Linked DNA regions of Homo sapiens: region 1 is linked to region 2. Evidence: promoter capture Hi-C in 16 types of primary human blood cells and fetal thymus (Javierre and others, 2016). All regions are on one chromosome and are shown on one strand. The core of a region is centred on a gene start or on the middle of the fragment in contact, and the rest is flanking DNA. Distances in the headings are between cores, read along the strand shown. Region 1 overlaps SLC7A8 (solute carrier family 7 member 8). Region 2 holds the start of CMTM5 (CKLF like MARVEL transmembrane domain containing 5).

Region 1 (4,631 bases), core at 190-2,689, 250 kb after region 2:
TTTTTTAAAAAGCAGATCATAGGCTGGGCATAGTGGCTCATGCCTGTAATCCCAGTACTTTGGGAGGCCGAGGCGGGCAGATCACCTGAGGTCGGGAGTTCGAGACCAGCCTGACCAACATGGAGAAACCCCGTCTCCACCAAAAATACAAAAATTAGCTGGGTGTGGTGGCGCATGCCTGTAATCCCAGCTACTCGGGAGGCTGAGGCAGAAGAATCGCTTGAACCTGGGAGGCGGAGGTTGCGGTGAACCAAGATCGTGCTATTGCACTCCAGCCTGGGCAACAAGAGTGAAACTCCGTCTCAAAAAAAAAAAAAAAGCAGATCATAAATGTTCATTTTGATGAGTTTTGTGGGGGTTTTTTTGTTTGTGTTTGTTCATTTTTGTTTTTTATTGTTGTTTTTTAGAGGCAGAGTCTCACTATGTTGCCTAGGCTGGCTTTGAACTTCTGGGCTCAAGCAATCTTCCTGCTTCAGCCTCCCAAGTAGCTAGAAATATAGGTGTGTGCCACTGTGCCTGGCTTCCATTTGATGAATTTTGACAGTTGTCAAAATTCAACCACTACCCAAAACAAGATAGAGAACATTTCCACCACCAATTCCCTACTCCCACAAAGACAACTAACTACTCTCTGACTAGGACAAGAGTGTTTTTAGGCCAGGCGCGGTGGCTCACGCCTGTAGTCCCAGCACTTTGGGAGGCCGAGGCAAGTGGATCACGAGGTCAGCAGTTCAAGACCAGCCTGGCCAAGATGGTGAAACCCCGTCTCTACTGAAAATACAAAAATTAGCTGGGCATGGTGGCACACACCTGTAATCCCACCTTCTCGGGAGGCTGAGGCAGAGAATTGCTTAAACCTGGGAGGCGGAGGTTGCAGTGAGCCGAGATTGCAGCACTGCACTCCAGCCTGGGCGACAGAGTCAGACTCCATCTCAAAAAAAAAAAAAAAAAAAAAAATAGAGTGTTTTTAAAGCTTTCCATATGCAGTTCAGTCCCAGTGTATTAGGGAATCTGCATCCTTTGAGGATGTGAGGAATGCTTTTAAAGAGATGAAGATTTTAGGCAACAGACAGAGGCTGCTCCTGCAGCCTTCCAGGCATTGGGAACACCCCACTGAGTGACAGTACAATTATCAGTAACCCTGAGCCACCCATACCACATTCAGGGTCTAACATACCCAGGGTTCATCCACTTTTCCACTGGCTGCCTCTGGTTTGCTTGCACCTGCATTTGTGAACACAGGTTCTGTGACTGGTGGGGTGGAAAGTATGCATGTGAAGGCGGGTGCCTGGTTGGAGTGGGGATGCCCCTGTGTGGGCAGAAGGTAGGCAAGGATGAAGGAGCTGGGGCTTGGTGGTCCCTGGGTTATCCCAGGCTGACCTGCTTTTCTCCCTGACAGGCTGTTCTTCGCTGGAGCCCGAGAGGGCCACCTTCCCAGTGTGTTGGCCATGATCCACGTGAAGCGCTGCACCCCAATCCCAGCCCTGCTCTTCACAGTAAGGGCCCTTCCTGCTGTAACTCTCCACACACCTCCCTCTCTTTGTGCCTAGTCTAAGCTGGGAGTTCATGCTTTTCACACACACCCCTGTTACCCTTGCAGTCTGCTGCTAGGTCTCACTGGATCTTAGAGGATCTGGCAAATGATACCCATCATCTTTGTTAATATCAAGAGATATAGCAAGGAAAGATCCTGAGTCTTGAAATACCTAAGGCTCTCAGGCTGACTTATTTCCGTTCTCCCATCCTTTTGGGTCAGACTGAACTGACTGTCTCAGGATTCTACAGCCTCAAAAAAAATATATCTCCCTTGGCTCTCCTCGCACCTGTTACCACAGGGTTGCAGCACTGGCCTCTGCTCCTGGCTGGTTGGTCCCTGCAAACACCCACTTCCCCCATCAAGCTTCAGGGCAGCCTGCCAGTCTCTTGGGAAACATCATTGAAATGAAGTTAGTGTTAACAGTACACCAAATACGAAAAATAATAGAGGAAGACTGATAAACTGGAAACTGTGCAAAGGAAACTTGGGACAGGAAAGAGATGGGAGTAAAATATCCCCAGAGTAGAATCATTTTGAGAGAGCTATAGGAAGGAACAAAGACTTGTCCCCATTGAGTCTTTTGAGTTATTTTTATTTTCCTTCTGGATCCTGAATAAAACACTAAAAATGACTTTGGTCCACTGGTGAAGCAGTTAGCAATCAGAATAACAGAGCTCTTGGGAGCCAAGAGCATTTTACAGCATTGCTGTACAATTTCAGAATGTTCAGATGCAGGATGAAGGTCACCTTGACTGGTTGGTTGTCGAAGGTGGCTGGAGAAGACAGTACTCCCAGTGGGCCACACACATTTTTTTGTTTTGTTTTGTTTTGTTTTTTCCAGTTAGAGCTATTGGTGCAGTAGTGTGACTAAAAGGCAGATGTAGCAAGAACCATTAAAATCTTCTCGATTATTTTAACCATCGGATCTCACAAGAGAACAGAACCTTTTGTTGACCTTCACAAGTTATCAGAGGGGAGGAGCATGGTTCCAAGAGAGCCACAGAGATGATTTTGAAGTTGGAAAGTAGACTCTGTCAAGAAAACCTCATAGGGATGTTATGAGGGTTAAGTGAGTTAATCTTTGTCAAATGCTAAACATAGAGACCTGGCACACAGTAAGTGCTATGTAACCAGTTTTGAAATTAATAAAGAAAAGGAAGGAAGAAAAATAGATGACTCAGCCAGGAGAAAAGGATGAGGGCAGGAATACAGCCTTAATCTGTTGTTAACAATCTTCCCTAAGGGATTTTAAAAAAATGAATTTAGCTTGAGCTATAACCAACAGAGGCATACAAATGAGACCGGGGCTGACACAGAGCCAGGTAATACCAGTGTGGCCAGTCTAGCTGCTTATGTCCAGTATCCATTCTAATTGGCTAGTGCCCGTGCCATACGAGTGGTTAAATATTTTGATCATCACCCCTGTAATAAGAAAGGATTTCCTAGCAATAAAGATGTTGTAACATATTGGGTTACTAGGGGAGGTTCTAAAGTCTCCATTTCGAGACATCCATTATACGATGGCATCATCTGCCTGGAGGCTGGGGGACAGCCCCTAATCTGTAATACCAGTCTCTGAATATCTTTCGGATCACTGATGAGCTCCTCCCACTTTCCCAGTGCATCTCCACCCTGCTGATGCTGGTCACCAGCGACATGTACACACTCATCAACTATGTGGGCTTCATCAACTACCTCTTCTATGGGGTCACGGTTGCTGGACAGATAGTCCTTCGCTGGAAGAAGCCTGATATCCCCCGCCCCATCAAGGTGAGAGAAACTCCCTTTGGGGTCCCCTCCCCTTCCTCTATGGTTCTAGCTGCAGTTCAGATTTTTAAATCACCTCTGTTCTTAGCTGCTGACCACACGTCATCATCTCTGATGGTAGCAGACCCTTTGGAAAGCAAGGGCCATTTGTGAATGGGACCACTATTTCCATTCTCCACTGGGGATGAGATCGGAGCAGACTGCAGCTGGGGAATAAGTCAGATCAAATGTGACTTTCATCATGACATTCCTTTGTTTCCTACCAGTCTAAGCCTTAAACTCCAGCTGACTTTTCAAGGTTCTCTTATCTCCCCAACACTTCCTCCTTGTCCCTCCAGATAGCTGGGTTCACTATGTGCTATGTCTCCATCCCAGAATGACTTCCTCCTCCCATCTGCCCATCTACATTTTAACCATTTTCCAAATGCGCCTCAAGTACCTCCTCTTTCTTGAAGTCTTCCAGTCTACTGCAACCTCCCATGATCCTCCCTTTATAAACTCCCACAGTCCTACACATATAGGGTGCTCAGTGAACCTAATATTGCTACAAGATATAACTCTGTGATAGGAATTAAAGGGATTGCTCAGAACAGGACATGCTAGAGCATTATGAGTTCTCCTACGAATTAGAAGAATAGAGTGTACTCCAGAGCTATTTGAACAATCCTATTCTAGAAACAGTGACTAGATGCTTCTAGAAGATCCTTCCAGCTGAAAAATCAAAGGCTCTCCAAATCTCTCAGTTCCTCACTGGCATTTCCACCGCCATTTTCTACTCTCACACTTAGAAAATCTGCTAGAGGGAAGAGGAGGTAGAATAACCCCATGTCCCCACCACACACATCCCTTCTGAGCGAGGAAGACAAGGAAGAGAAAGGCAGCCGAATCAGGACTGCCCCTGGAGCCCTGAAGAGGATACTCTCAGGAACTCCCCACATGTGGCCCATAAGGAGCTGACATTTGCCATATTGTGCCCACATAAGGGCCCTGCACAGAAGTGGGCAAGGACCAGGGAGCCTGAGTGACTCGAATCGTCTCCTGCCTGCACCTTGTGCATTGCCACACCTCCCCTCCACCCTAGGACCTCAGCAGACACACCCATGTGCCAGCAAGCTTCTCCATCCCTGTGGGCTTCTCTGGCTGCCACGGGCACATGGCATGCATGATGAGGCCTTGTCTAACCACACCCAAGAGCGAGGACATGGGCAAGGAGGATCGTTTCCTCCCTAACTCCTCCCCATCCTCTTCCTGTCTGACCGACCATGTTCATCAACATTTGTTTATATAGCCCCTGCCCTACCAGGGGTGAGTGTGGGACCACAGAGCC
Region 2 (5,026 bases), core at 1,549-4,048:
GCAACATTCCCATGAATACTCCTTGACATTCCTGACCTGCCTAATTTCTGGGGAAGAAAGAGACTCACCAGTAGAATTTGAATATTTTAATTTGGGAATGACTTAGAGGTCCAGATTCCTCCCCTCCACCCCCCCTCCCCCAATAAGTTCCCCTCCTCTGGCCAGAGCTTCATGAGAAGCCACATCCTGGAGCACCAGGCTCCACAGATAAGTCCCCAGTGACGTCTCAGGCCAGACTGCTGTGTAGGGCTGGGGTGGGGTTTGGCGGGCTGGGGGCTAGTGAATCCCAAGGAGACGTGTCTGGGCTCCACTGTCCTCTCTGGCTGGCTGGGCCTAGGAGCCAGGTAGCCCCAGAGTCACTGCTGGTCCCCTGTGAGGATAGAGCCAGGTAGGGACCCACATCAGGATGGGTAGCTAGGGTGGGGAGGGCATCTCCTCTCCACAGAGCACAGGCACTCACCCTGGCTGGCCCCGGGTGCCATCTCAGTCCGGTAGATCTTGAAGGCATCATAGGCAAAGATGGAAACCAGGATGATGCCAAAAACCTGTGGGAGTGGGAGTGGGGATGGCAAAACAGAGGCTATAGGGCCATTGGGTTAAGGTATAGGGTGAGGTGCAAGCCAGAACCCCAAGTCCTGGCTGTGGCTTCTGATACAGAAAGTGTGCAAGCACCAGCCTGAGCTCTTGAGGGGCTAAGGAGTCCTGCAGGGCTGAACTCACAAAAGCAGCAATGGCAGCTCCGTCCCGGGAGGTCACAGCTGCAAAGGAGACCACCAGGAAGATGATGATGGCACTGACACAGCGCAGGAAGTCCTGGGGGCCAGGGGTGCAGGGTTAACAGGACCTCAGAAGGCAGGGGGCGTTACCCTGAAGTTTTCCAGGCTAGCCAGCAGCCCGACCCTGAGGGATTCTGAACCCCTCCATAGGATACCCCTCACACAATATGAAGCACATTCAAGAGACAGAGCGCTCACACTGCTACCCAGGGAGTGGAAGCAGATGAACCAGAGCAACCAGGACCAGAAGCCAGGCGCTGGGGCTGGAACCCAGGGGACAGCGGCTGGAGTATGCCAGCCCGGGGGGGTCAAGCCAGGCCAGGGCTGGGGCTGGACCTTTGCTGAGTGGGAGAGTAGATCTAGCGGATGTGGTCCTCCTGATTGCCCGTGGCCCTGCAGCTGTGAAATCAGTGTGAGTCAAAGCACACCTTTGAGTGCAGGGCATAGCATGGGACAAAGCCCAGCTGTGGTGTGGAAATGGAAAGAAGCTCGGGGAGGAAAGGAAAATGCATCATTTAGAGGAGAGGGAAGGGCCCCAAACTGGGCTAGGGGTCAGGGTTCCTCACCAGACAGGGCCAGTTAATTCGGTCGAAGCGCTGGTAGTACTGGGTGGCATAGAGGAAGAGGAAGGCAAGTGTGATGAAGAACTCCAGTAGCGCCGCGGCCATGTAGGCAGAGATGGAGGCCGTGAAGCAGATGAAGATGATGAGGGTCAGGGCCTGCAGGACCGAGCATGTGGAACATGCCAAGAAGGGGACACAGGCAGGGGCCAGGGCTTTGCCTTCCCCTCCTTGGAAGCTCCCCTAGGCTGGCACCTACTACCTGTCCTTGGAGGGGAGGAAGGACTCTGGCACATCTCCCTATCCCCTGGTGTCAGGAGCCACCGTTGCAGGGCATTTGCCGGTCAAGGGCAGTCTCCGGCCTCCCACTCTGCTCACCCAGCAACCCCAGCAGTCTGGCCAAGCCATATGGCTCCCAGGAGCACTATCCCACAGTAATTCATAGGTACAGTGTGAATGCCAGCCCCTGGAGTTGTGCCCACAGAGACCCGACTCCACAGGGACCAAGAGGAGCCCCCTGCCTCATAATGCTTTCCCCACCCCCAGATGCCTGAAAGCCCCCTGACAAGGACCAGAGCCTTTGATTCCATGCCAAGAGAGAAGGCAGATGCTGCCCAGTGGTTTCTGGGAGCCCCTTTAGCTCTGATGACCTAGGGTGGCATACGTGCAGAGGCCTTAACTCTACACTGTGGTCTTGCTAAGTAACCAGGGGAAGATCCTTTCCTGAGAAGAGATGTTTCTGGGCAGCAGACCACAGATAAAGTGCAGTTGCAGGAAGTCTGCCCTTTTTGATAGTTAGACTTCTTGGACGTGCTGAGAAGTGGCCATGTTAGAGGCTGTCATTGCCCCTGTCCCATCCCTATGTCTCAAGCTTCCTCAATGTCCCAAAAAGTCACCCTGTCTAACTGCAGTCCTTCCTGCTGCAACTGAAACCTGCTGTAAATGTCTCCGGGTGGAGAGGCAGCAAGAAGGCAGAGTAGGAGACGAAGAAGGGGCAGCTGCGGGCAGGAGAGGTGTCCAGAGGGCTTGGGGAAGGAGGCTACTGAAGGGTGAGCTGGGGGCTGGCATAAGGCTGGCCAGGAGCCGGGGGTCAGGGAGATGGAGGCACCAGGTTGGGAGGCAGCTGTTACCAGCTCGGTTTCCAGCAGGATGCCCTTGTGGGAGGTGAGGAAGGCCTTGTCCACCGCGAAGCCCTGGAGCTCTGCAACTACCCCCTCCTCAGGGTGCCGGTCCCGGCGATCTCGAGCACTGAGCATCTTCGTAGGGCCCACCAACACAGCCCCCTACTGCCAAAAGCCCAGCAAGAGAAACAGAAATCTGGCAGGATGGGGAAACAGACAGGAGCAAGAAGGCACTTCGAGAAACCTGAAAGTGAAGCAGGAGGCTTGCCCACAGGGCCCCGGGAGAGAAGGCAGGCGCTGGGGGCCTTGCCCAGATGGGCCCTCACCCAGCTGCCCAGAGTGCCTCTGCTGCTGCCTGCACCAGCCCCCTAGAGACCCATGGGGAGGGGCAGAGAGGAAGGAGGCTCTAATCCCTCCCCTTGCTTAGAGCCCAACCCAGCCTGGAATAGAGAAGGAAGGGGAGAGGAGGAGGTCCGAAAAGAAACTGGGAGGAGCTGGGATGTGAGTAGAGGAACAGGGGCAGGACTGGGAGCCCCCAGGGACCTAAGCCTGAAGACATTTGTGTCCCCCTTCTCTAACCTTAACCCTCTTGTTTGGCCGGTCCTTTCTCCCATTTCCTTTTAGGGAGGGTGTGAGCTGGAGCCCAGCCCAGGCAGCACCCCCAGGACCAAGCTGCAGCAGCCAGGACTGGAGGACAAAGGCGGATTGTTGGGGGACAAGGGGGCGCTCTGTGCCTGCTGCAATGCCTCAATGGGCCTCTGTCTCTCCAGCATGCCGGGAGCGCGGCCTAGCCCCCACCCTGGTGTTTGGGATGGGCCAGGGAGACAGAGATGGGAGAGGACGGGAGGGTGCAGCGGAAACTCTGGAGGGCGGAGAGAGCTGGCAGGGTGGACAGAGGTGAGGGCCAATGGTGGAAAGGAGAAGGGACAGGCTGGGAGACCGCGAGATGTTCAGGCACCACGGATGCCAAATACAGATTAGGCCATTTTTAAATAAAGATATTTATTTGGATAAATCTCTATACATTCAATAACAGCTTCCTCCTCAGAATCATCCATGTCAAAAGACTAGTAACTACACTAGAATGCACCCAAAGTAGATGCTCACTGAGTGATGAGTAAACAAACAAATAAAACCAGGGGCTCTTTCTTCTCCAGCAAGGGGGAAATATCTAGAAAGTGCCTGTGCTGGGCCAGGGTAGCAGGGGATGGGAAAAGAGGAAGAGACAGGAGTGGTGGCCTCCAGAAATGGGCAGAACTTTGAAAACCTTTCCTGAGAGAAAATGACAGGACACCAGCTTCCGGCGGCCCTAAGCAGCAGCTGCTCTTTTCAAAATGTGCAGAAGTGCAGGCTTTCCCCAAAGCCCCCCATCCTGTCCCGGGATCCTGCTGCTCCAGACAGCACTTCACAGGGGCCAAGCATCTGGGCATCCTGGCCCTTCATGGCAAGTGGTTGTACACCTGGCTCCAGGTTTCCCAAAAAGGGACCAGCCTCCAGCAGGTCCGGCTAGCCCATCACACGGGGCCGCACACACACACAAGCTAAGGAAACACGGTACAGCCTGCGCTCCAGGCAGTAGCCCTTGTGGGTGCCCTTCTCGCCATGGCATGGCCGCCGGTAGAAGACAGTCTGGTTGTGGTAGAGCAGCTCCGAGTTGCCCCGGGGGTCCATGTGGGAGCCTGTCTGTAGGCTGACGCAGTGCGGGCACAGGCAACGGGCGTGGTACAGGTCCTGGGGGAGCCGGTTCAAGTCTCTGTCCAACCTGTGGGGGCGGCACTTGTCAGGCCTTGGAAAGATGGGCCGGAAACAGAGAGGGTGGGGTGGCATGGGAGTGCCAGAAGAAGGAAATGGTCCGTCTGGGGCCTTGGCCTCTTGTCTCAGTTCTGAACCCACTTGCTGTGTAACTTTGAACAAGTCACCTCCCTCCTTTATTAAATTTTCCCCACTGTAAATGAGGGTAGCAGGTGACAGAGTGCTTTCCAACTGGTCCTGGGACCGTGAGGGAGGCAGGGGAGGGTGAGCAGGCTCCTGCCTTAGCCTCCATTGACCAGCACTGCTTCTATCTGACTCAGCATGAGGTTTCTTATTGTAATGATTACACTTTAGGTGTTTTTGTTTGTTTTTTGATTTTTTGTTTTTGTTTTTTTGAGACGGAGTACCCAAGCTGGAGTGCAGTGGCACGATCTTGGCTCAACTGCAACCTCTACCTCCTGGGTTCGAGCGATTCTCCTGATGCCCGCCACCATACCCAGCTAATTTTCATATTTTTAGTAGAGATGGGGTTTCATGATGTTGGCCATGGTTGGCCAGGCTGGTCTTGAACTCCTGACCTTAGGTAATCCACCCACCTCGACCTCCCAAAGTGCTGGGATTACAGGCATGAGCCACCGGGCCGGACTTTAGGTGGTGTTTCTATTATTATTATAGCATTATTGCAAAAGTAAAAACCACTCTGACATCCAAGTATTAAAGAGTATAAAGAGTGAAAGTTAATAGTCTCTCCCTACCAGCCCCACTCCCCAGAAGAAGCTATCCTCAACTATTTCCTGCACATTCTTCCAGACGCTGT

Evidence for each region. Contacts are between HindIII fragments. The CHiCAGO score rates a contact against its expected background, and 5 or more counts as called.
Region 1: a fragment that was not itself captured here is called in contact with the fragment with the promoter of CMTM5 in region 2 in 3 of 17 cell types (total CD8 T cells, activated CD4 T cells and naive CD8 T cells); the score reaches 5.6 in total CD8 T cells.

The regions. Positions count from the first base shown.
Region 1 is chr14:23,128,326-23,132,956 of GRCh38, reverse strand. SLC7A8 (solute carrier family 7 member 8) reads left to right here. Exons shown (of 11, transcript NM_012244.4): 8 at 1,400-1,496; 9 at 3,158-3,307. Among named protein-coding and RNA genes, the nearest start is that of CEBPE, 11 kb to the right of the region's middle. The HindIII fragment of the contact is 927 bases long and covers 976-1,902 here.
Region 2 is chr14:23,374,818-23,379,843 of GRCh38, reverse strand. It overlaps CMTM5 (CKLF like MARVEL transmembrane domain containing 5), which reads right to left and starts at 2,798. Exons shown (of 6, transcript NM_001288746.2): 1 at 2,467-2,798; 2 at 1,343-1,495; 3 at 975-1,175; 4 at 721-813; 5 at 461-545; 6 at 72-370. The coding sequence starts at 2,592. The coding sequence ends at 357. It overlaps IL25 (interleukin 25), which reads right to left. Exons shown (of 3, transcript NM_172314.2): 3 at 3,441-4,219. The coding sequence ends at 3,964. The HindIII fragment of the contact is 2,824 bases long and covers 2,210-5,026 here.